6 separate regions of the Homo sapiens genome follow, and regions 2, 3, 4, 5 and 6 are each linked to region 1. The links are contacts of gene promoters, found by promoter capture Hi-C in blood cells and fetal thymus (Javierre and others, 2016). All regions are on one chromosome and are shown on one strand. Each heading gives the region's core, a stretch centred on a gene start or on the middle of the fragment in contact. The rest is flanking DNA. Distances are from core to core; before and after follow the strand shown. Region 1 holds the start of RNF2 (ring finger protein 2). Region 2 has its middle 28 kb from the start of HMCN1. Region 3 overlaps GS1-204I12.4 (a long non-coding RNA gene). Region 4 overlaps LOC107985239 (a long non-coding RNA gene). Region 5 has its middle 7.5 kb from the start of HMCN1. Region 6 overlaps LINC01350 (long intergenic non-protein coding RNA 1350).

Region 1 (4,564 bases), core at 473-2,972:
CTAGCTTATTTTTCAAATACTCAAACGGATTGGCCTGACTCGGGCAATTTTTCTTCGTAAATCTGCCTCTACTATAATTAACCTCAAATGTGGATGCCACAAGGATACCTGAGGAAAATAACTACAATCCTTACAAAAAGTGAGGGACCATATTTGCTGTGCTACCCCTAGAAAAAGGAGTCACCTATAACTACCTATTATTTTGCTAAAAAGTAGTTTAAGAGTACAATCAAGATTTTTAAAGATACTTGTTGATTGTGAAAAGTAGAAATTTCAGGGGAAAAAGGGAATAACCAAGAGTCATATTGCTGCTATTTAAATACTTTATAAATCCAAGGATCAAATTTCACTATAAGAAGCAAACTCTCACACCCACCTCAGTTATTAGAATATTCAACAACTGCACTTAATACAAAACAGATAGATTAGCTACCAATTAGACTAAGTATTCCAGCTGATCATCTTGGAATTACCAAAAGTAGATTATGTAATGCAAATCGCTCGTACATTCGTTTTAAACATATCCTCGGTTTAGAACACTGAAACCATGCCTTAATTTTTTTAATTGAAAAACAGCGTATTACTAAAATACTGAGTGCATATGTATATCCTTTTCACGGCACTTCAAAGAAACCTGACATCTTCAAATCATTTTACAATGTAAAGTTACATTCTCTAAAACTTCCGACAGCCTCGAAAAAGATACCCAAAGGGGCTTCAAATAGATGAGTCTATAATTGATCTTAGCGGGCAAATAACTGGAATGAACCTCAAAGTTTGAGATCAATTTTTACTAACACCATCTCTGAAAGCAAGAAGGAGACTTCTGTAGAAGGTAAACGATTCTGACCAGCAGGACGTGGGCTCCCGGCAAAAGTGGGTACTAGCATCTCAGCGTAAACGACACGGTTCAAAACGCGAATCTTCCCGCAGAAACTAACCAAGACACCCCCTCCCCCCACGACTCCTCCTGGGTAAGCTCACGGTTTTAGAAAGCAGCAACAGATACTCCAGAGCAGGAGGCGGCACTCCAGGAATGTGTGAAGCTGAAGGGGTCTCCCCGAGGAACCCCGAGGTCGAGGAGCTCCTCTACACTGGAACCCCGACTCCGACCCCCCAGAAGGAAGGAGCGATATCTGCACAAAGTGCCCCCTACCCCACCCCCACGATGCAGACACACATCCCTAGCTGCGAGGCGAAAGCCCAGAGAAAAAACTCGCATTCCACTCCGTCCGCCTCCGGAGTAGGGCTGCAGAGAGGCTGGGGCCCCCGCCCCCGGAGGCGAGGGGACCGCGCCGCAGCGCCGGCCTCCGCGCAGAGGAAAGGGCAGCGAAAGGCTCGCGGCGAAGGAAGGAATCCCGGCGCTTCGCTGACTGGGTCCTCCGCAAACCAGCTCCCTTCCCTCCCACGACCCTCGAAGACACGGGAACAATGAGAACCCGCTTCACCCGCCGTCTCCGCCGCGAGAGCGGCCGGGGGCGGCGGCGGCGCCATGTCCCTTCACACCCCCGCGGACACACACCCCCCCCACACTCCGGGGCCCCCGTCAGTCGCCTGCAACGCTGCCGAGTAGACGCGTGTCCCGGCCCGCTGCTTCCGCGTCCTTCGCCTCCCCGCCCGCCCCACTCACCGGCTCCTGCCCCAGCCCAGGGCTCCGCTGGCCGCGGCCGGAGCAAGACTCTGGTATCAGCTGCCGCGGACGCCGGCGCCGCCGCACAATATGGCGAGCCTCAGCTTCCGCAATGGAGCTCGGGAAATACAACAGGGGCCGCTCAATATTCATGAGAGACTGAGGGGAAGCCGGCTCGGCCGGCGCTGCGGGGAGGGCGGGAAGGAGCGAGCGAGCGAGGGGCGGAGGCGCGGGACGAGGACGTGCACGGCGCGGGGAGGCCCGCGGCGCGAGGGAGGGTGCGCCGCCGCGTGTTGGCCTGGAGAACCCGCGCCACCGCCCCGCCCTGGGCTGGCCGGCCACGCCCCCCCGGCGCCCACCGCGGTCCGACGTAGCCCCCGGGCAACGCCCGGATGACGGCGCAGCCACCTCGTGCTCAACCTTCTGCTTGGGTTCTTCTGCCCTGGCTTCGGCCCACCCTTTACACCTTCCTGGCCGGCTTCTGGGGTTTGGGCTCAGACTTCTTTCTCATGAGTTCGTCCTCTTAAACCTGTCCCACCCGGCGGAAATCCTCATCAGGCTTTGGTTTGCAGAACTTCACATGAACTTCGGCACCCTTCCGCTCTCGTACAACAAACATACACTTTTCATCCTTGCAGGATAAAACTGCAAGTGTAATTGCTCCTGGGAAAATGACCTTCCACTCTAAACTTAGCTTAACATTCTGATTGTGGTCATCAGCTCTTACTATTTACCTTGCTGCTGCTTTATTCCTACCTCCTTGGCCCCTTCCAGTGTTACCTTCTGAACTTGAGGATTTACGAAGTAATAGATTAATAGATGTAATCATTACCTAAAACACAGCCAGTTAGTCTCCAGTAAATTATCCGACATTTAATGCATATAAATTATGAGCTGAAGAAGTAACGAAGAATTGAAAGTTCCCTGATCTCTATATGTACTATTGTTGAGATGTCATGTTCTCTTGAGAAGATAACCAGCAATACCAGACCGTAAATCTGAAGGCATAGAGGCATAAACCAATGGACTGCAGTGGGAATTGGGCAAACTAGGTTCATAGCCTCCAATGTGTGTCTATGTGACTTACGTAGATTGCGTAGCTCCTCTGCACTTCATTTTCTTCGTCTGCGAGATGAGAGAATTGTATTGAATCCTAGGTCCTTTCCAGTTCTTTAACGCTCTGAAACTCTCTATAAGCAATTCCAAATAAATGACATGAATTTACATAGGAATTTGGAAAAGAAAAATATCAATTCCAGCTGGTGTGTTTGGGGATGATTTCCTGAGGAGCCGGGATTTAAGATGGCCTTTGACGCCTTGGATGGGTGGAAAGAAAAAGGACAGGTGTTAAATACAGCACATTATATATGCTACCTAACAATCCATCAAAGAAAACAAGCATTATTCTTTTTCAGTGGCTTGAAAGCTTTTGCCTACTATCTATAACTTTAAATAACAAGTGACAGTTATCTGACTCTACAAGCCCTTCAAGGTTAAACTCTTCCTCCAATGTGGGGGGAGAAAAAAAGGCTGGGTGTGGTAGCTCACGCCTGTAATCTCAGCACTTTGGGAGCCCAAGGCCACCGGATCACTTGAGATCAGGAGTTCGAGATCAGCCTGGCCAATATGGTGAAACTGTCTTTACTAAAAATACAAAAAAAAGTTAGCCAGGTGTCGTGGCACGCGCCTGCAGTCCCAGCTACTCGGGAGGCTGAGGCAGGAGAATCGCTTGAACCTGGGAAGCAGAGGTTGCAGTGAGCCGAGATCGCGCCATGACACTCCAGCCTGGGTGTCTCGGCGAGACTGCGTCTCAAAACAAAACAAAACAACAACAACAACAAAATCAAAATAATCAGGGAAGCTCTGCTTCTCCCTTCTTGTGAAAGTCCACTTTCTAGAAACAGTGCAGTTGCAGAAGCATCTCCCTTCTTCCTTCATGACGAGTGCATGTGTAGTTCAATTAAAGGAAGACAGGTGTTCATAATTTAGAACTTTTGCTCTAATTAAAATGCCTTTGAAAATCATGATGTGTGGTTAGATTAAGCAATTCAATTGATGTTGAGAAAAGTGATGATTTGTAGAAAGCGCAGGAACTTTATGGATGAAAGTTAAATATAGTGCTTAAAAAAGACTCACAGGAGAATTAGTGGAAAAACGGAAAACTTATGGGATATCTGGATTAAATGTGATTAAAAAGCTAGACCTCAGGCTAACATCCTTAATATGAAAAACACTACTGACAAATTAATGGAACTCATTTTATCTATTTTATCTCTTACTCAGAAACTTGGCACTGGATCTTCTCTGACTATATTAATCAGGAAAGGTTATGTTATGGTATAGTAACAAACATCTCCAAAATCTACATGCCTTAACACAACAAAAGTTATTGTTTGGTTATGCTTCATGCTTCATGTGGATCCAACTCACTCTGTTCTGGTCACTCCAGGAACCAGATTGATAGAGACACCACCATCTTGTAGCTGTACCACCCTGGAACACAGAAACTTATTCTCTGCAGCAGAGGAAGAAAATGGCTAAAGAATCCCCGTGAATTTTTCGTAGCCTTAGCTTGGAAAAGAGAGCACTGATCACATTTCATTGCCCAGAACTGGTTGTACAGCCCCACACATCTGCAAAGGGACTGAGTCCTTGAACTGAGTTCAGAAAGAGAAGTGGGGACATTGGTGAACAATGCTAACGTCAGCCACCCTGACCTCACCACTAGGTTCCTAGATGCCATGGGAAAATTCTAAGAGGTTTTATTCTGTAACACTGGTTCTCTTGAGTGACCCCAAGAAAGTTATGCGTTCAAAAGTAAACTCTCTTACTTATTAAGAGTTGACTGCCATGTAAATAGAGTGGACTTTCCATTTTCTTCCCTGTTGTTTTAATCGTATATTATATCGATGTAAACTCCATAGTAAATATATC
Region 2 (4,431 bases), core at 1,263-3,762, 660 kb before region 1:
AGACAGGACCCTCAGCTGCAGGTCTGTTGGAGTTTGCTAGAGGTCCACTCCAGACCCTTTTGCCTGGGTATCAGCAGCGGTGGCTGCAGAACAGCGGATTTTTGTGAACCGCGAATGCTGCTGTCTGATCGTTCCTCTGGAAGTTTTGTCTTAGAGGAGTACCCCGCCATGTGAGGTGTCAGTCTGTCCCTACTGGGGGGTGCCTCCCAGTTAGGCTGCTCGGGGGCCAGGGGTCAGGGACCCACTTGAGGAGGCAGTCTGCCGGTTCTCAGATCTCCAGCTGCGTGCTGGGAGAACCACTGCTCTCTTCAAAGCTGTCAGACAGGGACATTTAAGTCTGCAGAGGTTACTGCTGTCTTTTTGTTTGTCTGTGCCCTGGCCCCAGAAGTGGAGCCTACAGAGGCAGGCAGGCCTCCTTGAGCTGTGGTGGGCTCCACCCAGTTCGATCTTCCTGGCTGTTTTGTTTACCTAAGCAAGCCTGGGCAATGGCAGGCACCCCTCCCCCAGCCTCGCTGCCACCTTGCAGTTTGGTCTCAGACTGCTGTGCTAGCAATCAGCGAGGCTCCGTGGGCGTAGGACCCTCCGAGCCATGTGCGGCATATAATCTCCTGGTGCGCCGTTTTTTAAGCCCGTCGGAAAAGCGCAGTATTAGGGTGAGAGTGACCCGATTTTCCAGGTGCCGTCTGTCACCCCTTTCTTTGACTAGGAAAGGGAACTCCCTGACCCCTTGCACTTCCCGAGTGAGGCAATGCCTCGCCCTGTTTCGGCTTGCGCAGGGTACACTGCACCCACTGTCCTGTGCCCACTGTCTGGCACTCCCTAGTGAGATGAACCCGGTAGCTCAGATGGAAATGCAGAAATCACCTGTCTTCTGCATCACTCATGCTGGGAGCTGTAGACTGGAGCTGTTCCTATTTGGCCATCTTTTTTTTTGTTCAGCCTCCCCTTGCCCTGAATCCGAATGATCACAAGGTCCCACAATAGGCCAAGGTAGCCAGTCTGAGTCCCAAAAGCTGAAGAACCTGGAGTCTGATGTTCCAGGGCAGGAAGCATCCAGCATGAGAGAAAGATGTAAGGCTAGGAGGTTAAGCCAGTCTCCACTTAGCTCTTCTGGTTATACTGAGCGTTATGGGTTGAATTGTGACCTCCAAAAGCATATGTTGCAGCCCTAACCTGTGGTTCCTGTAATGTGACCTTATGTGGAAATAAAATCTTTGCAGATGTAAACAAATTAAGAGGAGGTCATTAGGGTGGGCCCTTAATTCAATATGACAGATGTTCTTATGAGAGGAAAAGATGACCATGTGAAGAGGTAGACACACAGGAAGAACGCTCTGTAGAGAGGGAGGCAGAGATTGGAGTTATGCTGCCATAAACTAGGGAAAACCTGGGGCTATCAGAAGTTTGAAGAAGCAAGGAAAGATCCTCCCCTAGAGGCTTTCAAGGTAACGTGGCCCTACCAACACCTTGATTTCAAACTTCTAGCCTCCAGAACTGTGAGATAATAAATTTCTGTTGTTCTAAGTCACCCAGTTTGTGGGAATTTGTTATGGCAGCTCCCGGAAACAAATATACTGTAAGTCATAAAGAGCCCAAGGAGGGATAGCTAGTTCTCTATGACTGAATGGACAACTGTACATCAGCAATGGTGTGAAACAAATATCTTCTTCGAAAAAGCATTTGGATGTGATGATCTCTAAAGATCTCTCCTGACTCTAAGATTCTCCAAATTCCCATACAGTAAAGTTTCCACACCAATAGATACATAAGATAGATATGTAGTTTATAGTTAGTGGGCTAGAAAGGCTAGACAACATATCTAACACATGCATGCATTTAAACCTCACATGCCTTATATCAGACATGCTCAGCTTCCCAGAACACCATAGATGTCTACATATCTTCATCCATTAATTCCAACCTTCCCTCAGAAAAGATATAGGAAGGAGATGGTGATAGATTAACTCCATAATAGTTATTTGGGGATTATCCACTATAGTAAAAATAGAAAATAAAATATGAATAGTATGACAAATTTGTGGTCTTGTGTCCTACCAAAATATCTCCTGCCTAGAGGTTTTTTTAAAAAAATAAAAAACACTGGGGTATATAACTACACTTTCTGAATTTAGGGCTGAGAGTCATAGAGTCCAAATTATTCAACTATTCTCTGCACTATCATAATAAAGCAAGCTCATGATTTCCCAAAAGATAGAAGGTACCATTGATACATTTTTTTTCTATGAAACGTTCACAATGTTTTAGGAAAGCTTTTAATGGTACATGATCTACATCTCTGTTTAATCTATGTTTCTGTTTCATGTTTACATAGTTTTATGTATGTCAATATGTTCTCACTTTTACAGAGTCTCTCTTGAATTGTAAACTATGAGAGAGAAAGAGACTCTCTTTTATAGATACAACATGACACAAGATACTTGGAGAATTTTTAAATATAGTAAATAGTGCTTTAGTTAAATGTTATTGTGTTTTGTCATAACCTGCAACTAATAGTGCTTTTTGATCCCCCTCATGGGGTTGTTGGGATGATTAAATATGACAGCTAGGGCAAGGCACTAGCACGGTGTCTAGCAATCAGTAAATCTCCATTAAATATCAGCTCCAGGTTTGATACTGAAACAAGTATTAGGGGTCAATATTTATGCTTAAAATTAAATATGCAAAATTGTAAGATTCTTACCCCTGTAGTGATATGGTGAGAAGAGGCAGAGCACAGAAGTTAGCACAAGCTTTAGAGCTCAACAGTCAGAGTTTGGGCCATGGCTGTTATACTCAGTAACTGTATGACCTCAGGAAGTTATCTGACTCCCAGCTCTTCAGTTATCATTAAAGAATTATTTTCAAAGTCATTAGAGATAGTGTTTATAAAGCACCTAATGTGACAACCAACACATAGTAAGCATTCAATAAATAGTAGCAGTAAATCCAAGGGGGGCTTCAGTCCATATTACCTCATCTCAAAGGATTCCTCTAAGTACTTGTCATTCTGTATACAACTCTTATTTTTATCTAATAATTTGATTTTCCCCAGATGGTTATTACATATTTATATAATGCCTATGTTCGTAAAAAAGCACATAATTAATTTTTTAAATGTATTAAATGCCCTGATAAGGAAACGCATCCAAAATTGAAAAAAGGAAGAAACAAAAAAGTAGATTGCAAGTTCTTCCAATATTTTATGGGTTTAAGATTTACCCAAGGGATTACCCAAGGGATTTCCCAAGGGATTATCCAGGAGAATATAATTTGATTTACTATATACTACTGATTAAAAGTCTCAAACGTAGTGACATTACCACGAAACTTATAAATTTTTGTCCAGTAAAAATGAAAATAAAGTCTGGCTTGTGGAACAGATTATCCCAAAGGTAATGGTATCCTGTAGGATATTAACCAGAATTTTTTAATGCAGTGTAGCAATCTTATCCTGACATTCCTTTATTAAATTGCTTATAAATGCCTAAGTCCTCAAATGCTTTTGCAACCAGCATAAACATCTTACTGATTCCTTCTTTAATAGATAAGCTGAATAGAATCTTTGACTTGTTTATTTTATATTTGCATGCAACTCATGGTTTTCATTTTCTTAAAATTATGTTAGTAGCTTTGAGAAAGCTTAGTAGAAAAAATAATTACCATAGTTAATATTTTAGAAAGTGAAAAATTATTTAGCAACATGAATGATCACTTTCTAATTAATCTCTTATAGCAGCCTTTTCTATGTGTTTTCTCATACCTGAGCATTCTTGTGTTCAGGCCACTGGCATGAGCAAGTACAACTGCCACTTGCTGCAGCAAGATAAGTCGGCTGAAGTTCTAAAGTCTCTTATACAGCTGTATGAGTAATGAGTTCAAAAATCACTCTAACAATTGCTATTGGCTTCCCTTTCTTTGCTTATTCCAATCCTTATTAATGGTCTGAGAGATAAGGCTCCTGTTACCACATGCACACAATGTCTGGCTAGCATCGCACATACGAGATATGGTTTCATTCCAGTTTTCCTGCCACCAGGGGAAATAAACAACAAAGTTGGACTCTGAAGGAATGGGCTTGTTGGTTTAGCCCATTTTGCACCTTGTTAATGTCTTACTCATCCATATAGTGACCATCTGGCAACACTTGGAGCCAGATTTCTGCTTAATTAAGTCATGTGAATTATCAGAGGCTTACATACCCAAAATTTAGAAGAAACAAAGGTGTGGACAATTCTAATCTGAATTTATTATTGTGTGACTTATTCAAAGTCAGATGATGCATATTTTCATGGACAAAAAAGTTGAGGTATATGATGAATTCTATAGATTCAAAATAGTAAGAACAGAAAAGGTATAAAAGGGAAAGTTATTCTCTTCACAGAAGGATTCTCCATGGTAAAAAATAATTCATAAAAGACCTTTTAAGGAGCA
Region 3 (3,975 bases), core at 1,072-3,571, 610 kb before region 1:
GGAGAATCCAAAGAACAGACAAATATATGTATATAGGTGTCCAGAAAAAGGTTAACACAGCAGTCTTGGGTTACTCAAACCCTGCACATTCAAAAAAAAAAGGACTGGTCCTTGGCTGACATCCAGGAGGTGACCTCTGAGCTCTCTTGAAATCTCCTGCCTGCCAGGAGTGTTTTTGTCGTCTAAGTTGTTGAACCGCACTGCATCAGTTGTTGAACCACACTGACCTCTGGGGGCTGGAGACTGAGTAGTTAATGTTGTCCCATAGCCGCTGCATGCCTTTGTCACTAACCCCAATAAAAATCCTTGGACACCAAGGCTCAGATGAGATTCATAGGATGCAAAAATTTACATGTGTGTTACATTGTTGCTAAGATAATTAAGTGCTGTTCATGCAACACCTTTGGGAGAAGCCAACTGGAAGCTTGTGTCCTGTTTCTCCTAGACTCTGCCCTACCCACCTTTTCCTTTTGCTGACTCTAATCTGTAGTCTTTCACTCTAATAAACCACAAACATGAGTATGACAGCTTTTTCTGAGTCCTGTGAGTCCTTTTAGTGCATGAAGCCTGAGGGTGGTCTTGCAGACTCCTGATCCGTGAGGCCATCAGAAATGCTGAAAATGAATTTACATCTATTAAAGATGCAAATGAGATGCCTTTTACAGGATGGATGAAGTTCATTTTCATTTCCATTGGACAAAATAATTTGCATTACTATCAGTTTTTTTTTTCAATTTACAGAGTTGTAAAATGGATCCAAAACAATGAAAGATATAGACCTTTATAGACTCAAATAACTCTGGAAAGATATAGACCTTTATAGACACAAATAACCCTTTTTGCTCATTTTAAAGACTTTCATAATTTTTTCTGACACATTTATTTAACCAATATTTCTTAAGGAAGTCCCTGGTCCAGGCAATGAGGACTCTCTCGAGGCTTAAATTAAGTAGAGTAGTTATTTTTTAAAGGTGATTCTCATTGTAATGTATTTGATAAAATCAATGCCATTTGATTTTCCAGTTTATAAACCATACATTTCCTAATGTAAAATAAAAATCTATTCACTGTATTTTTCTTGAAAAGGAGTCAGTTTTAGGTTATTTGAAAAAGAAACGTGTTTCTAAAAGAGTAGCATATATATATATATACACGCACACATATATATACACATATATACACACATATATACACATATATACACACATATATACACATATATACACACATATATACACATATATACACACATATATATACACATATATACACATATATATACACATATATATACACACATATATACACATATATATACATATATACACACATATATATACACATCTATATATACACACACATATATATATACACACACGCACATATATACATATTCAAAACTGAAGAGACTTAGAGACTAAATAGACTTAAGGCTTTACCTTTATTATCAAACAATTATTGAGGTTTAGGAAACTTCTTTAATGGTATAACTTAGAGAAAGTCCTGAATAGAACAAATCATGCTTAATGGAGATGCCACAGTAGGGCATACTAACAAGACTACCAGAGTTTAAGAGACAAGGGAGGGAAGACAGAATCAAAATGTGAAAGCGACTGCAGAAATGAGAGCAAGCCTGCAAATTGCAGGATCATGAACTGTGGGGGCAACACTTGAAGCCTGCTGTTCAATGCTCCCCATGTCAATCCACTTTAAAAACTAACAAAATTATGGCACTTATCTGTCTACCCCAAAGGTTGACCATTACCTACAGGATAAATTTCTTCACTTGATATACAAAGTTTGTCCCAAACCTCATTTTGTGTCATTACTTAATAAATGTCTTCTACTCCAGCTACCAATGGTTCCCAACTTGGAATTACCTGTGGAACTTTTAAAAATTTACTGCCCAGGCCTTCCTTTGGATTGATCAAATCAAGACCTCTAGGAGGTGCAGCCCAGGCATCAGTGTCCTTTTGCAGCTCTCCAGATAATTCCAGTGGGCAGCAAAAGTTGAACACTTCTGAACTAACAGTTTTGAAATCCACATTTTGGAGTGCCAAGAAAATGTAGCTCTACTGATTCTTCTCTCTGAAAAAGAAATGGTAGAGTACAACTAACTTAGGTTAAATTGTTCCTTTTGTAATATTATTTCCAAATTATTTAAAAGGCTTTGCACATAGGATTAAAAGTTAAGAACATAGTTTAACCTCTCATTCAACAACAAATTCCTTTTCAATCAAGTCACATTCTTTCTATCTCCATACCCACATGGACTCGGTAGAGTAGAAATGACAACATTGCTATGCGTCACTCTTGTTTACTTCGGTTCCTATCAGCAAGTACTATACAGAGTTATCAGGTGTCTGTTAAATTTAGGCTTAGGAAAATGACTGCTATTTCCCTGACAAAGACTGGCTAGGAAAATAACAAGGGAAACTGATATTAAGACATGGCATTTAAAATAGTGTTCATGGACATTTTCTTCCTCACATTCTTTATCATTTTTTTAAATAGTACATAGGTGCCCCTAAACCTTCTTTAAATTTTTTTGAGGAAAAAAAAAGGAAAGAGGAGAGAAAGGAAAGAAGGAAAGAAGGAAAGGGAAGGGAAGGGAAGAGAAAAGGATAGGGGTAAGAAGGGAGGAAGGAAAGAAGGGAGGGAAGGAGGGAGGGAGGAGAGAAAGAAAGGAAAGAAAGGAAGGAAAGAAGAAAAGGAGTGAGGGCAAAAAAGAAGGAAGGAAGGAAAAATGGAAGGAATGCGTTGCAATAATTCAAGTGTTAATCTTGGATTTTACTGTGTAAATTATTGCAAAGAAATAGGCCTTGGGCTGGGCACAGTGGCTCATGCCTGTAATCCCAGCAATTTGGGAGGCTGAGGCAGCCTGATCACTTGAGGTCAGGAGTTTAAGACCAGCCTGGCCAACATGGTAAAACCCTGTCTCTACAAAAAATACAAAAAATTAACTGAGTGTGGTGGTGCACACCTGTAACCCCAGCTACCCAGGGGGCTGAGGCAGGAGAAGCACGTGAACCCAGGAGGTGGAGGTTACAGTGAGCTGAGATCATGCCACTGCACTCCAGCCTGGGTAACAGAATAAGACTCTGTTCTGTCTTGAAAGAGGAAGGGAAGGGATGGGAAGGGAAGGGACGGGAAGTGACAGGAAGGGAAGGGAAGGGAAAGGACAGGAAAGGAAGGGAAGGGAAGGGAAGGGAATGGAAGGGAAAGGAAGGGAAGGGAAGGCAAAAAAAAAGAAGAAATAAGTCTTGGGCAGTCTCACAGGAAAGGCTCTCTAGTTTTTTGGCTATCTCCACCTTGATATCTGTCCCTTTTGCTTTTTTTTCCTCTTAAATAACCTTCCTACCTGAGGTCTTCCATAAAATGTTTCATAGGGCAGATAAATTGCAAAAATCATATTATCTATTAGCATGAAGAAATACAGGGTACATATTATGTATAAGTAAGTAAAACAATTGACTAATTTAATTTATTCAAGGCTGAGCTCTTGCAATCTACTTCTACCCTAAGCCAATTTAAGTACCTTCTTTTAGTTCTACTACTGCTAAAGTACTAAGTGTTTATCTAGTCTCTCCAGAATAAACATTGAATTTCAGGCCCAATTTGTACCCTAGTCATCTCAACATGTTCTTCCAGAGGTATTCCTCTCAGTTAGTTCTTTTCCTTTGGGGGTTTGCAGCTCACAGACATTTTTCCTAAACTACTTCAATGGTAGATTTTTAAAAAATATATGTTCTTTTCAGCCTTCAGTAATAGGGTTGAGTCAAATGGCTTCTGCCTTTTCCCATAACACTCCCATCTTTAAACAAAATATCCTACTTGAAGATTTCTGCTTTCACAAACTTTCCATTTGTTCTTTCTCAATCAACTCCTAGATTTTGTCCTGAGGGCCTCTTCATGATTTCAAGTTGTATGTGACAGTAGCTTTATCAAAGCCCACATTTATTAGGTCGGTGCAAA
Region 4 (4,524 bases), core at 1,319-3,818, 630 kb before region 1:
CTTGCTTCACGTAGGTATTTGTTTTTTCCTGGAATGGTGATGGGATCAAGGCCCAAATCTATGAAACAGTTTGTGAGAATTTTTGGAACTATAAGGCATTTGTCAGGATGGATAGTGGTGGTTTGATGTTGATCTTACTCATTTTCATTTCTGTTATTCTCTGAGAATTTTAACCATGTTATTTGAAACTTCTTCACAAAAATGACTTAATGATAAAAATTTCAGAAGAGCAAAATGTTAATAAGCCCCAGTTCCTAATCTGGTCTGTGTCTAGTAATAGTTAATGCCTCAAAATTTCAGGATTATTAAAAATAAGTCTTCTTAAAGTTGAAATAAACCTTTTTCTGTTTCTTCAGGTAATTGAAAGGATGCCATATGTTATTTTAAATGCAAAAATATTGTATCTCAAAGGATCAAAGGATCCAATTGGATCTCAGAAAAATGCTATCTAGAGAAAAACTACCATTATAAATCATAGAATTATAAAATAATAAGGTGAAAATGGTCTTAAAGGTCAGTGCAATAATTGATAGTCTTGTCCCTTTGCAGATGAGGAAGCTAAGGCTGCTCAAATGACATGATGTGTACATGATGACAAAACTCATGAATTCATGAATTCAAACACGAATCTTCCATTCCCCAAAGTCCAAGCCCATGTACAGAAAATTCTAGGCCACTGCACATCCTCCCTTTTATAATTGCACATTTAGTAATACAAGCTTCATATTAAATTTCCAAGCTCATATCTGGATTGAAGAATATGTCTCCATGCATATCGTTAAACATTTCCAACAGGTTTTTTTTTTAAATTTATTGCATTTGGCCTTTATTCTCAACTCAAAAGCTTGGTATAAGTGCAAGCCTTTTGGAATTTTTTAAAAGATAAAGATTTCCTTTGTGTCTGAGATCTAGATTTTCCTCAGACCTTATTTCAACTTGGTTAGTTCAATTTTCCTCTTTAAAACTCCTTTATTTTCATTTAACTAAGGAAGTGTGTTCATCATGTACCTTCTTACCTCTTGAAATATTTGTTTTGTTTAGCCATAAAAGTCCAAATGCAATTTAACACCTAAAAAGAGAAGAGGTGCAATTGTAAAACTGTAACAATTTTGCTAAATTGAGCAGTACTTCTTTAAAAATCTTAGGAAATATGAATTCTTCTATTATGAGCTATACACTTGTTATCACTGAAAGATAATTACTACTTTTCTAAACTCAGCCAGTGAGGTATATAATCCTAATGTCCTTTCTCCAAGGTAAGAAATGGTCATCTTTCTGGATATTAAAAGACAATAAATACATCAATTAAATTAAAAAGATGAAGATTATTAAAGTGATTTAACAGATTTAAAGATTATTAGAGTTCATTTGGAGCTGACTACAGCTCCAAAGGATGAATATTAAATGAAACTTATTAAATAATTTTTAATTCAAATCAATTTCATATTCTTGAGTTGTTCATCAAAAATAAATGCTGACATGTTATCATCCAACAAGTTCAAAGCACTTCCTGTTTGGTAAAAAAGGAGACCTAATGTTCTGCATAATCACGTTGTCTTGAGAAAAGACTTCGGTTTTACAGAAATTATTCTCTCTCCCATGCCAGGAATTGAAGGAGGGAAAAGAGAAAAAAAAAAGTTCTTGGGTAGAAAAATAATTCTTGTAGTATCATTATTAAATTTGGCTACAAACAGTATTGGTATGCTTTATGTCTAAAATAGTACCATTGGAATTGCTTTAATGGATGAATAATTATTTTACAATGTAACCATGGATTTTATCAAAATACCTCCCTTACGTAAGGCAAAAGTGAGCAAGTTTAAAAACAGTAACTCATGATCACCTGCTACTGTAAAAATCCAGTGATATGCATACCTTTCATTCAGAAGTTAGTAATGCCCTCTAGATCTCTCTTTTTATTCTGCACCTTTGTCAACCAACCCACTTTATGGCTATTAAGTCCCTAAAGCTTCTGAATCCTCTACAGCTCATCTCAAAACAAAAGCTAACCACCTGACATGCAGGGCTGGTTGTATGAAAATACAACAATCCCTCTCCAAGACCATGATAACCTGAGTCAACAGCGAACACATTAGTGAAATACAATTGTTGGCTTATGGAGTAATTCCAGTTAGCCACTGAGCATGAGGTATCTTCTAATTCTTCCATTGTTTAAAGATTAATTCCATTTGTTTGCCAGTAAGCCAAGTGGACATAAAAGATGAAACAATGAAATCATGAGTTGATCTGGTCCACCTAAAATAACTCCCACTACTTAAAAAAAACTTAAATTAATTCAGTTTTTGCTTTAATAAAACATATTTAAATGGAAACTTCGAGCTATAATAAGCAGTATTCTTCAAACTATAAAAAAGACTAAAATTCTTTATATCAAAGTTTTTCACTGATGTATAGGACAGTCTAGATTTCCTGAAAGAAAACAAATAGACCTCTATAAAGGTAACATAAATGTATACCACCACTACTGCCACCAAAGTAAAAAATACCATACTTTTTTTCAAAACAAAATAGTTAAAGACTAGGATAGCTGATCTAGAAGGAACCCTAGAAGGTATCTCACCTTGCCCCCTGACATTTGATGGAGAAAAAACTGGGAAGCAGATAGTTCACTGATTTAAGTTAGACACAGGTCAGTGGCTAAGCATGTAACTAAACTATAAGTAGACTAATAGTTGCATGAATCTCTTCTCTGCTCTTTTTATGTAGGACAGAGTTCACTGTCATCCTCTTGCCTTCCCTTTTAGGATCCTCTCTGCTATCCACTTGTCACAAGTGCCTAATCTATGCTCTATTCCTAAAGAGTCTGACTTTCCCAGTTAACTATTAAGTTTGGAAAATAATCTCTTAAACTAGAATGTAGTCTTAAACCAAAATGTAACTATGGCATATTAACAGATGTTGTCTAACAACAGTAGTCTCTAGTCAAATTGGTTTGGAAAATTCTAGGTTAAGCAAAGGTTTCTTTTCTGTAGAATAGTTTCAGAACTTTAATATGCTGATGTGCATTGTGAGTCTTCAGGTATGCATATCTCAACCTTATTAGATTATGGCAACTTTTTTTTACAAAGCAGATATCATAGATAGTATAATAAAGTGAAACACAATTTGAAAAACACTGTGACACAGCTAATTCCTAATAAGCTTATCTTGGATGTATACTTTCCAAAAATATAGGTACTTTTAGTAATTATTAATAAAATGAATTGTCATTTTGATCATTTAAAATACATAGTAGAAAATTAAACTGACCTCTATTTATACTAGCTAATGATAAGAAGAGATCCAGAGCCTTTTAAAATTGACTTTTGGAAGATTAAAAAGGCTTTAAGATGTGAAGAAATTAAAACTTAAGATGGCACTTCATATACTGTGAAATGAGATGCTGAGGGTGGATGACAGGAGAACTCTACCAGTTAACATCAGATTACTTCACGTCGGTATCTGCTCCCTTGTGAATAGAGGTACCATTTATTCAGCACTTGCTGCATGCTACACTGTGCTAAGCACTTTATTTACACCAGCTCTAGAAGGGTAGAGCCTATTACAATTCAAACCCAAGCTGGTCAAGTTTCAAAGCCTATGCTATTAATCTGACTATGACACACCTTCCCCAGCCTATCCCAGTTAGCAAAATTCAAATAATTCACATGAACTCTGCTTTTTCTTCCATACTGCAACTCCTGAAAGTGCCAAGATGTAAGCCAGAATTCTGCCCATATTTCAGAACCATTTCCCTCTCCTTCAAGCTGCCTGCTTGTCATTTTGTGTAAGTTTTATGATTTCATTTTAGAACAGCACTTCCCATATATTCTCAGGGTTTATTACTATCATTCCTTACCAAGGTGTGCTTAGGCAGAAGAACGGATACACTCACCAGCACATTGTTCATTTTTAGGTACTTAGTTTTAAATAAAATGTGCAGTTTAAATAAGAATGAAGCAGAAAGTTAAGTAGAGAATAAGAATTTTTATCATTTCGCTCAATGAATGCCTACCATTTAAAAATTTTTAATGCAATCTAATTCTAAATGCATCTACTCAGCACAATGAGAAGAGACAGAGAGAAATAAGTGGACCCTTCTTAAAGTGTTTACCATCTTTCTACAAATCCTACCTGACATGCCTCTAGGAATATTTTCTCAGACAACAGAAACTGAGATGCAATGAATTCAGTTACTTTACATAGAAAAATTGTTGCCTAACATCCTATATAGTTTGAGTGAGTTAACTTTCATAGCCCATTATTTTCACTTATTAAAAGAGAGATAAAAGAAACTTCTTTCATGTTCTGTTCATTCCTCTGTTTTTCAATTTCTCTACAGGAATTTTTGTCCACATCATGCATGAAAGACACAGTAGAGAACAGAGCTATCGTCCAACTGCATCAGATCTTACTGACTGTTGCTTCAATTAACTAAAACTTTCAGAAAAACAATATCTGTCCTCAGGAACCTAAGCAGTTGCCTCCACTTCTCCCATTTATTTTGTAGGAGTCTATACATAA
Region 5 (4,087 bases), core at 22-2,521, 680 kb before region 1:
GAACTGATATCTATCCTTGATCTTAGAAGTCCTAGGAGGAAGGGAATGAAAGCAGAGAATGGAGTTGCCACTTCTAAAGTTTACATACACAATGTTAGATTTTACAGCAACATGTAGCAGATTATGGAACATTTCTAGTTTCATGATAACAATCACCAAATTATTCTCAAAAGTCTCCTTGCATAGATTCTCATCATTAATGTTATATTGGATGGTGGGGATGGGGGAATGAGGCAAAGGACAAGGTAACATTGTTTTTTAAGTAGTCCAGCACATTTCCAATAATGTCACTGCTAAAATCCTCTCTCCAATTCAGTTTTCTCCCTTGAAATTCTTCTACCTGCTCTGGAGAAGACTGTGCTTACTGTTATTTTAAGTGATCATTTAATTGGAAGCATTCATCACACAGGGCCTGATAAAGCCTAGTTTAGAAAAACTTTGAATTAATAAGGGTTGTGAAGATGATTGCTGTAAAGCAGTATGCAAAAACACTGCTTTGTAGTAAACTGCCTCCTGCAAATCACTAAATGGCTTGAAGTTATTCTCAATGATCCTTCCCAAAATGTCTTCTTCTCTACATAATGAGGCCCACAGTTATTTTATGTTTACTTTAGTACATTTCTACGGGGCAAGTAACTTGCTATTGCCATTGAATTTAAAGTACAGTACTTTTGCACCAACCATAATGGTTATACTTGGCAATTCTATGACACTTAAAAAAAAAAAAGAAACATTATTTGTTCTTCTCTTTTCTCCTTTAAGAAGGCAATAAAAGGACAGAAAGCCATCATGTTATAACTGGAAAACTAATCACATAGAATATTCTCTTATACTAATCAAGTTTAAGTCTGGAATTAGTTTATATAAAACAGATGTTTACATTCTTATTCTCCTTTGGTACTAAAGAGAAAAAAGCACAGAATAACTCTCATGGCATACTTTGGGGAATGTAATACTCAGCTTCTACTTTTTTTTTTAATGAAGCCAGGAAGCCTTTGGTCAGTGAGGGGAACAAGCGGAAGAGGGAAAAGCACCAAGGGCCTAGTCTTTTACTCCTTATATAGGCAACATTCCCATCATAAAACAGGAAGTATGCTGCCTCAGAAGAGAAAACTGGCTCACAACAAATCCAAGAGGACGTAGAAAACATGAGTCTGGTAGCTTGTCCAAAAGGAGCCACTCTTTAGGCTCAGCTGGGGCCCTAGTTTTCTAGGACTTGTGATTCTGGTTTGTTTATCAGTTGTGGTCCTCTCTACAAGGACCTCAGCTCTCCATCCCAGTGTACGTACCCCCAAATAAAGATCAAGACCTTCAGGCTGTCCTCATAATACTTGAGGAAAAGTCTTGTAAACCCTAACTGAATGCTTAATGAGGAATAAAGACTCCAACCAAAAATATCTCTGCTTCATTTTCTGAAAAAAAGACAGAAGAAATTAAAATTTATTCTCAATGACCCTTCTCAAGATGTCCTCTCAAACCTCCCCGCTCCTCTCACAGGCAGCTGCTACCTCCATAAAGTCAGGGCCCAAGTAACTCTCATACCCAGTCTCTTCTGCTCCTTTACCCCAATTCAAAAGCTGGAAAAAATTTTAAAGATCGTTTTTCTACGCTAGGACCTTATACAGAGAGAAAACTGAGGCCCAGAGGATGACTTGTCTAAGATCTCACACACAAAAAAATTTGAGACAGTGCAGAAGTATATTTTGAGCTTGTGATGATCACTCTTGCACCTATCAGATGTAATAGCTAATATTTACTGAGTACCCATGTCCCAGGCACTATTTTAAGTGAAATATATATATATATATATATATATATATATGTATTTTTTTTTTTTTTTGATACAGAGTCTCACTCTGTTGCCCAGGCTGGAGGGCAGTGGCATGATCTCAGCTCACTGCAACCTCCACCTCCCAGGTTCAAGTGATTCTTCTGCTTCAGCCTCCCAAGTAGCTGGGACTACAGGCATATGCCACCATGCCCAGCTAATTTTTGTATTTGTAGTAGAGATGGGGTTTCACCATGTTAGCCAGGCCAGTCTCAAACGCCTGACCTCAAGTAATCCACCCACCTCGGCCTCCCAAAGTGCTGGAATTATAGGCTTGAGCCACCGCACCCAGCCTTAAGTGCTTTATATGCATGAATGCACTGTCACCTTTAATTCTCATTCCAAAACTGTAAGATAGTTAATAGAATGATCCCCATTTCATAGAAGAGGAAATTAAAGATGAAATTAACACAAAGAGGTTAAGTCATCTGTTCTCACAGCTCATTCTTCTCCCCTTCACTTTTATTCTCCTTCTTTTGCCTTTAGTCTATGTTTTCCCTATGACTTTATAGTAAAATTGAAAATTTTTAAACTTTGAAATATACAATTACTTTACAGTATATTGCAAAGTTTCATCATTAATATGATACATACATTATAATTATATTGATCTTTTCAGAAAAAAAAGACAGAGTTTTGGTTTTTTTTTTTTTGCTTTGTGAATTATCCATGAAGCATTATTTGTTCTTGAATGAGCTTTTCCTGCTCATGAGTATTTCTCTGAGCTTTCTCGCTTATTTACAAATTCAAAGTAATTTCATATTTTTCCTCCAATGCCATGAGCTCCTTGAAAATAAGGGCTGTGTTTTATTCATTTTTATAAACACGTAGTGTTTTATTCATTTTTATACAGTAGAAATTCAATAATGTTTCTTTGATGAGTTGCTGAATTCATTATGATTAATAATGATAACCATAATAACTGCCATCTGAGTACTTTAAGCATATTTTGTGTGTGTGTATATATATATATATATACATGTATATGTATATATATACACACATATATATGTGTATATATGTATATATACACATATATATGTGTGTATATATGTATATATACACATATACATATATGTGTATGTATATACACATATATACGTATACACATATATACTTATATGTATACACATATACACATATATATACGTATATATGTAAATACACATATATGTGTATATATATACACATATATGTGTATATATATACACATATATATATACACACACATATATATACACACACACACACACACACACACATATACATACATACATGTTTTCAGAGGCAGGGTCTTGCTATATCTCCCAGGCTGGTCTCAAACTCCTTGGCTCAAGCAACCCTTCCACTTCAGCCCCAACTCCCCTTACCTCCCATAGCTAGGCATGCATCACCATGCACAACAACTTAAAGCATATTCTTAGCACATGAGTGAATTCATGAACACATTTAATATTCACAACGACCTTGTTTGTAAGATAAGTGTTCCTACAACCATCTCAAAGATGAGCAAACTAAACTCAGAATGACAAGCAATTCATCCAAGATCACTTCCATGGCATGTAGTACAGCCAGCTAGGAGTAAAAACTCAGGTCTTGCAGGACTCTTTCTAATACACTCCATTGCCACCATGCAAAATAATTTTTTTATTAGCCTAAACATGATATTCCTAGTAAAATAAATGTTCTGTAGAGAAAGCTAATCATTCTAAGTCCAAAATCATGTTTTAAATCATTTTGTTTAGGTGAAACATCATTACTTACTTCCAGATAGGTAATGAAAGAAGTGAGGACAATTTAGCAGAATGTAGTTTAAAAAATATAATAAAAGCTTTTTTAAAAAAATAGTATGAAGTTGTGAATATCTAGTCACCCATCTGTTTATGAAAAGGAAACATCCATTAGTGCCTATGACCAGATTCCATTAAACATAAGGTGCTTGAAAAAGGGGCAGATCAATATTCTAACACGGATTTACTTGATGTTGAAGAATATGAAAAGATATTAGAGTATGGGTTGGGTAGTAGATATAATCTATTCTTTTTTTCTCCTTTTTCAGATCTCCTTCTTATATCTTCAAAATAGAGATTTTCCTAGGCAAAGGCTTTAATTATAAGTGGTAAAATCCCAGAATTCAGAGAGGAAAAAGAATTCTGAAAATCAGAAAAACACCTACTATTCTAGACAACTAGGAATCTGTCCTAATTTTAAGGAACAGTCACTAATTTCTTCTCTTATCTTACATTCTAGCATTCAGTA
Region 6 (4,316 bases), core at 451-2,950, 520 kb before region 1:
GCATAAGTCACCATACCCAGCCATCTTTTCCTCCTTGGGGTTTTGCTCTATATGTATAGACCTTGAGAAAGAGCTTTCAAAATAGACTTTATCCATAATCAACATCTTAGGATCTTTTTTCCTCCATAAAGATCTTCAGCATCACTATGCACTACAGTTCATTTCTCTTTTAAAGCAAAACGTAGCATAAACTAGACAAAACCCCCAAATAAGCTCTCCATTTCCTGCAGCTTGTGTAGCTCTAGCAATCTAGTCTATTGCTGGGCAATATATTCAAGCCTCTCACTGATTATGTTATCAAAGCTGTTTAAATTCCATTCCACGAGTTTGTGTATGGCAAAGATGAAGCTGTTTGTTTAATTAAACAATTTCTCTAAAAATGCACACAGTATATTTTGAGAACATAGTGAGACTTTGACCTTGCCTCAACAAGGGCATTTTGCTGCCACCCCCATTCTGCCACACTTTTCAACATGTTATCCCTCTTGAGTTTAATTTCTATGTTGTAAAACATCTCATCAATTGATATCTAGCATTTTGCATCTAATGCATTCTCATAACTTCTAGTTGGCTGTGGCTTATTTCATTGTATGCTTTCTTCTTCATACTTCTGGACAAGCTTTGTTTTTATGGCCTTTAAAAAAACATGGCTGTTATCAAACACTATATACGGAAATGGTTTCCTTGACAACCATAACCACAAGCGAGTCGTCTGCACCTCTTTCTCATTGCATGGTTTGTTTGGTTGCTAAAACACTTCAAAATATTTTTATTCAGAGTCAGGTATTAAGTACCTGAATTTACAGAGTAAGCTGAAATCCAAGCAGGTGATGAACTATCAGAACGGTTGTAAAGTGGCAAACTCTAATCATTTTCAAGTATTAGAGTTCAGCCTCATGACACAGTCTCTAAAAGGACAAATGCTGAAAGCTTGATATTTAAGATCCAAAATGAATGACTACCTCAAGGACACAAATTAAAAAAAAAGACTGGCTAGAAATGCCAAAGAAGTGAAAAATATTGCTTAAATGGAAGGTGACATTGCAGTTTTATTCATTCATATAAAAATTCCAAATGTTAATTCTTTAATGGGAAAGAGGTCAGCTTCAAGGTTATCAACAGAACAGCAGATATTTTGTCAAAAGTGCTCCTAAGACTATGTCTCTTGACAAAATTAAGCACAATATATATGGAGCTTCCATTTAAAATAGTTTTTGAAAATTTTCTTTGGTTAAATGTCTCATAGCTCATAAGATTCAGAAAATCTCTATTTCTGGGAACTTCTCAGGGTAAAAATATTTTCCCAAATATCAATTTTTTACAAGGAAATATACAGCTTGCATGGATTACAAAAAAAATTAGAAAGATCAACATGAGATTCTGTACAATGTGATAAGCATCCCAAGAAAAAATCACTAACAATGTCATCTCACTCCATACTGGTCTAGTCTCCTAATATCTGTCAAAGACAGGATATAATAAAAAACATGGTTTACTGTCCCCCCCACCGCATCATGTCCAAAACCATGGTTAAGTTGGAGATGTCTTCAGATTGGTTGGAATCAGAGTAATTTGACTGAAATAAATCACATAAATAATCCTATTTGTGTTCATGCATGTTTATAAAAAACAATTGTGCAAAAATATGAACCTGAAAATTTAATCAAGAGAGGTAGTGGCAATTCTTATGAGAAATTGGAGCTCTGGGTCACCAGGTAGGTTGAGCAGCAGGTGAAAAAAAATTATACAGAGCGTTTTTACTTATAGAATTTTACTTAACAGCTCTGAAAGAGCCTGTGAGGTTAGGTATGAATTATGGCAGGGGAAAGGCAGGCATAAGAAGGAAGGAAGGAAAGAAGAGAGGGGAGGAGGGAGGGTGGGCCAAAAGAAAGAAAACAAAGAGAGAGATAAAGGGAAAACATAGGCCAAGCTGCTCAGAGCATGGGGGGTGGAGGAGGGGGGTGAGGGAGGTGGGACAGTCATAGAGCAACCAAAGTAGAACCAAGGAGTGAGTTAAACGGAGGTTCCAGGTACCATTCTGAGGTGATTTTGAGAACAGTGTTAAAATGAAGCCAAAGAGATGTATCTGAGGCCCGGTCAAAAAAGAACCTCAGCTCCCCATGGACCAAGAGAACTCAAAAAGAGTTTAACTTTTGTCGCATACTTCAATTCTTACCATAATGTTCTACAGGTATAGAATGCTGGGGCCCTTCCATTACTCCATGCACTGGGGAAGAACTAGAATTGTGAGAAGAGCTTTCACGCTCCCATAACCATTCCTTGGCCCACCTCCAAGAAAAGGCAGGCTGGCCTCTGTTTAGGTGTTGTCTGTGCTTGCATTCCCAACGTTGACATGAGGAATTATCAATGGGTTCCGGACATAATCAGCCACACGGCAGAGTGAATTCCAGGAGGTATGTGTCAGGCAGGATCCCATCAAACTCATTGCTTTCAATACTTCAAAAGCTTGTTTTAGAAACACCATTACGGAGAATTGCCTGAAGGATTGAAAATCCAGACATTCCACTGCATACTCTAAAATCTGTCTTTGGGTGGTTCCAGGCCAGCAGAGATTTTCATACCTAGACTGTCTCATTTAGTTCTTGCCATCTTTTGATGACTTTTAAAAATGTGTATATTCATACCTTACTTTGTTCTGTAAAGAATTTAAGATAGGAATTTTTATTGAATTGAGCTGTGAATTTATGCCATCAGCCTTTATCTGAGGAACATTATAGGAAGCACTTCTATGAAATGCCTGTCAAGATACTATTGAGAATGTGGCTCATTACATTTCGAAGTATCCTCCTTAGGAAAACCCACTGGAAAAACTTCCCTCTTGCCTTCATACAAAGAAGCATTGAGCTTGTCTTCTGGCACTGGCTTGTTGTATCTTATGGACACTGATTCACTTATTGGACCATGTTTTTCTCTAGGCACAAAGCCAACTGGGGGCCCTTGCCCATCCACCATACAGAACCTCTCAGCATGCATTTTGTGGATTCACTTCTAGATTTACCATTCTTTCCCTACCCCTATTTTCTCTGTATTCATAAATCTCCACTTTATACATTTTTAAATTTGTTAACGTATATAGTACACTAAGTAAATATACCACGGTGCAGAGTAGCACCTCTCCTGCCAGAGGATGGAGAGAGGCAATATACCCCGTAGGGGCTGGACACATATTCTACCCATTTAGATCCAGAAGGAAACTTGAGCCTCTCTTCTCATAGAGAAAGAGTAGGGTAAAATCACAGACCACCACTATCCATCAGACCACTCTCATCCATGGGAGGGTAACTTTTAGGGAAAGCATTTTGGAGTGTCATGTAATACCACCCAATTTTCCTATATACTCATAAGATTAAATACTCAGTACTTTTCAAAAATGAAAATAAGAAACAAAAGTTCATTGTTAAACCCCAATGTTTACTTTATCCCTTGCATACGATGAAAATAATCTACTTCCCTGAAGGAAAGTGCTGACTTTCTCTATTGGCTCTGTAAGTCCTGGAGCAGGTGGTCCCTGCAGCAGAGGGAACGGAATGAGAAGACCCTTACAGTAGCCAACTGACTATTCTAGAACTCCTGGGAGAACCATACCTCATTATTCACCTAGAATGGGCCCAGCTTGTTCTAATTTCATTTGGCTCCTTGCAGAAACACTCTTCATTGTCTAAAACTTTGGGTGGCTGTGAACTTCAGCTTTGCCCCTTAACTCTCCTCTGACCCTTTTCTTGACCCACTATTTTGCTCACTATATTTTTGCAATATACACTTGGCTTGGGCCACCAAAAAAACTCACCCCTGCCTGGTCCATGGCTACTCCCTTGAGCTCAGCTGAACAGCTCACCCTGGCTTTAAAACTGGAAGTCCCACATCCCTGGAAACTTCTCAGTCCTAGGCAAAGGAGGGATGGTTGGTCACCCTACTCCCAGCCCACACTGATCATGCAGTAAATCAATGGCAGAACCAGAACCTTATTTATTTTATTCCTTTATATATTATTATAAAGCTCATATAATAATAACATATGAAGGACTATAACAATTATATGTTATATAACATATATTATTAATTATATATAACATATTATTAATTATATATTTTGATATGCATATAATAAAATATACAGGAATATAATAGATAAGTATATTATATATAAAGGAATAAAAATATGTTTACAGAAATATACATAAACAAAATTTACATATGCATATATATTTTACAGTACATAACTTCTTAAAAGACAACACTGTAAGCAAATTTCACAGAATTAAGTTATTTAACTGTGTAAGAACAACATGGCAATA

Evidence for each region. Contacts are between HindIII fragments. The CHiCAGO score rates a contact against its expected background, and 5 or more counts as called.
Region 2: a contact is called between a fragment that was not itself captured here and the fragment with the promoter of RNF2 in region 1, in 1 of 17 cell types (naive B cells). The highest score is 5.2, in naive B cells.
Region 3: a fragment that was not itself captured here is called in contact with the fragment with the promoter of RNF2 in region 1 in 1 of 17 cell types (neutrophils); the score reaches 5.3 in neutrophils.
Region 4: a fragment that was not itself captured here is called in contact with the fragment with the promoter of RNF2 in region 1 in 9 of 17 cell types (total B cells, naive B cells, naive CD4 T cells and 6 more); the score reaches 10.5 in total B cells.
Region 5: a contact is called between a fragment that was not itself captured here and the fragment with the promoter of RNF2 in region 1, in 1 of 17 cell types (neutrophils). The highest score is 6.6, in neutrophils.
Region 6: a contact is called between a fragment that was not itself captured here and the fragment with the promoter of RNF2 in region 1, in 1 of 17 cell types (fetal thymus). The highest score is 6.3, in fetal thymus.

The regions. Positions count from the first base shown.
Region 1 is chr1:185,042,716-185,047,279 of GRCh38, reverse strand. RNF2 (ring finger protein 2) reads right to left here and starts at 1,722. Exons shown (of 7, transcript NM_007212.4): 1 at 1,631-1,722. RefSeq lists a silencer at 1,833-2,092. The HindIII fragment of the contact is 4,610 bases long and covers 1-3,058 here.
Region 2 is chr1:185,703,893-185,708,323 of GRCh38, reverse strand. No RefSeq gene overlaps it. Among named protein-coding and RNA genes, the nearest start is that of HMCN1, 28 kb to the left of the region's middle. The HindIII fragment of the contact is 480 bases long and covers 2,273-2,752 here.
Region 3 is chr1:185,653,116-185,657,090 of GRCh38, reverse strand. GS1-204I12.4 (a long non-coding RNA gene) reads right to left here. Exons shown (of 3, transcript NR_188649.1): 2 at 1,881-2,088; 3 at 1-614. The region is part of intron 1 of LOC107985239 (a long non-coding RNA gene); the gene reads right to left. Among named protein-coding and RNA genes, the nearest start is that of GS1-204I12.4, 8.6 kb to the right of the region's middle. The HindIII fragment of the contact is 3,789 bases long and covers 427-3,975 here.
Region 4 is chr1:185,674,744-185,679,267 of GRCh38, reverse strand. All of the region lies in intron 1 of LOC107985239 (a long non-coding RNA gene), which reads right to left. Among named protein-coding and RNA genes, the nearest start is that of GS1-204I12.4, 30 kb to the right of the region's middle. The HindIII fragment of the contact is 1,193 bases long and covers 1,972-3,164 here.
Region 5 is chr1:185,724,832-185,728,918 of GRCh38, reverse strand. No RefSeq gene overlaps it. Among named protein-coding and RNA genes, the nearest start is that of HMCN1, 7.5 kb to the left of the region's middle. The HindIII fragment of the contact is 4,781 bases long and covers 1-3,661 here.
Region 6 is chr1:185,563,572-185,567,887 of GRCh38, reverse strand. All of the region lies in intron 2 of LINC01350 (long intergenic non-protein coding RNA 1350), which reads left to right. The region is part of intron 1 of LOC107985239 (a long non-coding RNA gene); the gene reads right to left. Among named protein-coding and RNA genes, the nearest start is that of LINC01350, 63 kb to the left of the region's middle. RefSeq lists a silencer at 2,065-2,265. The HindIII fragment of the contact is 1,536 bases long and covers 933-2,468 here.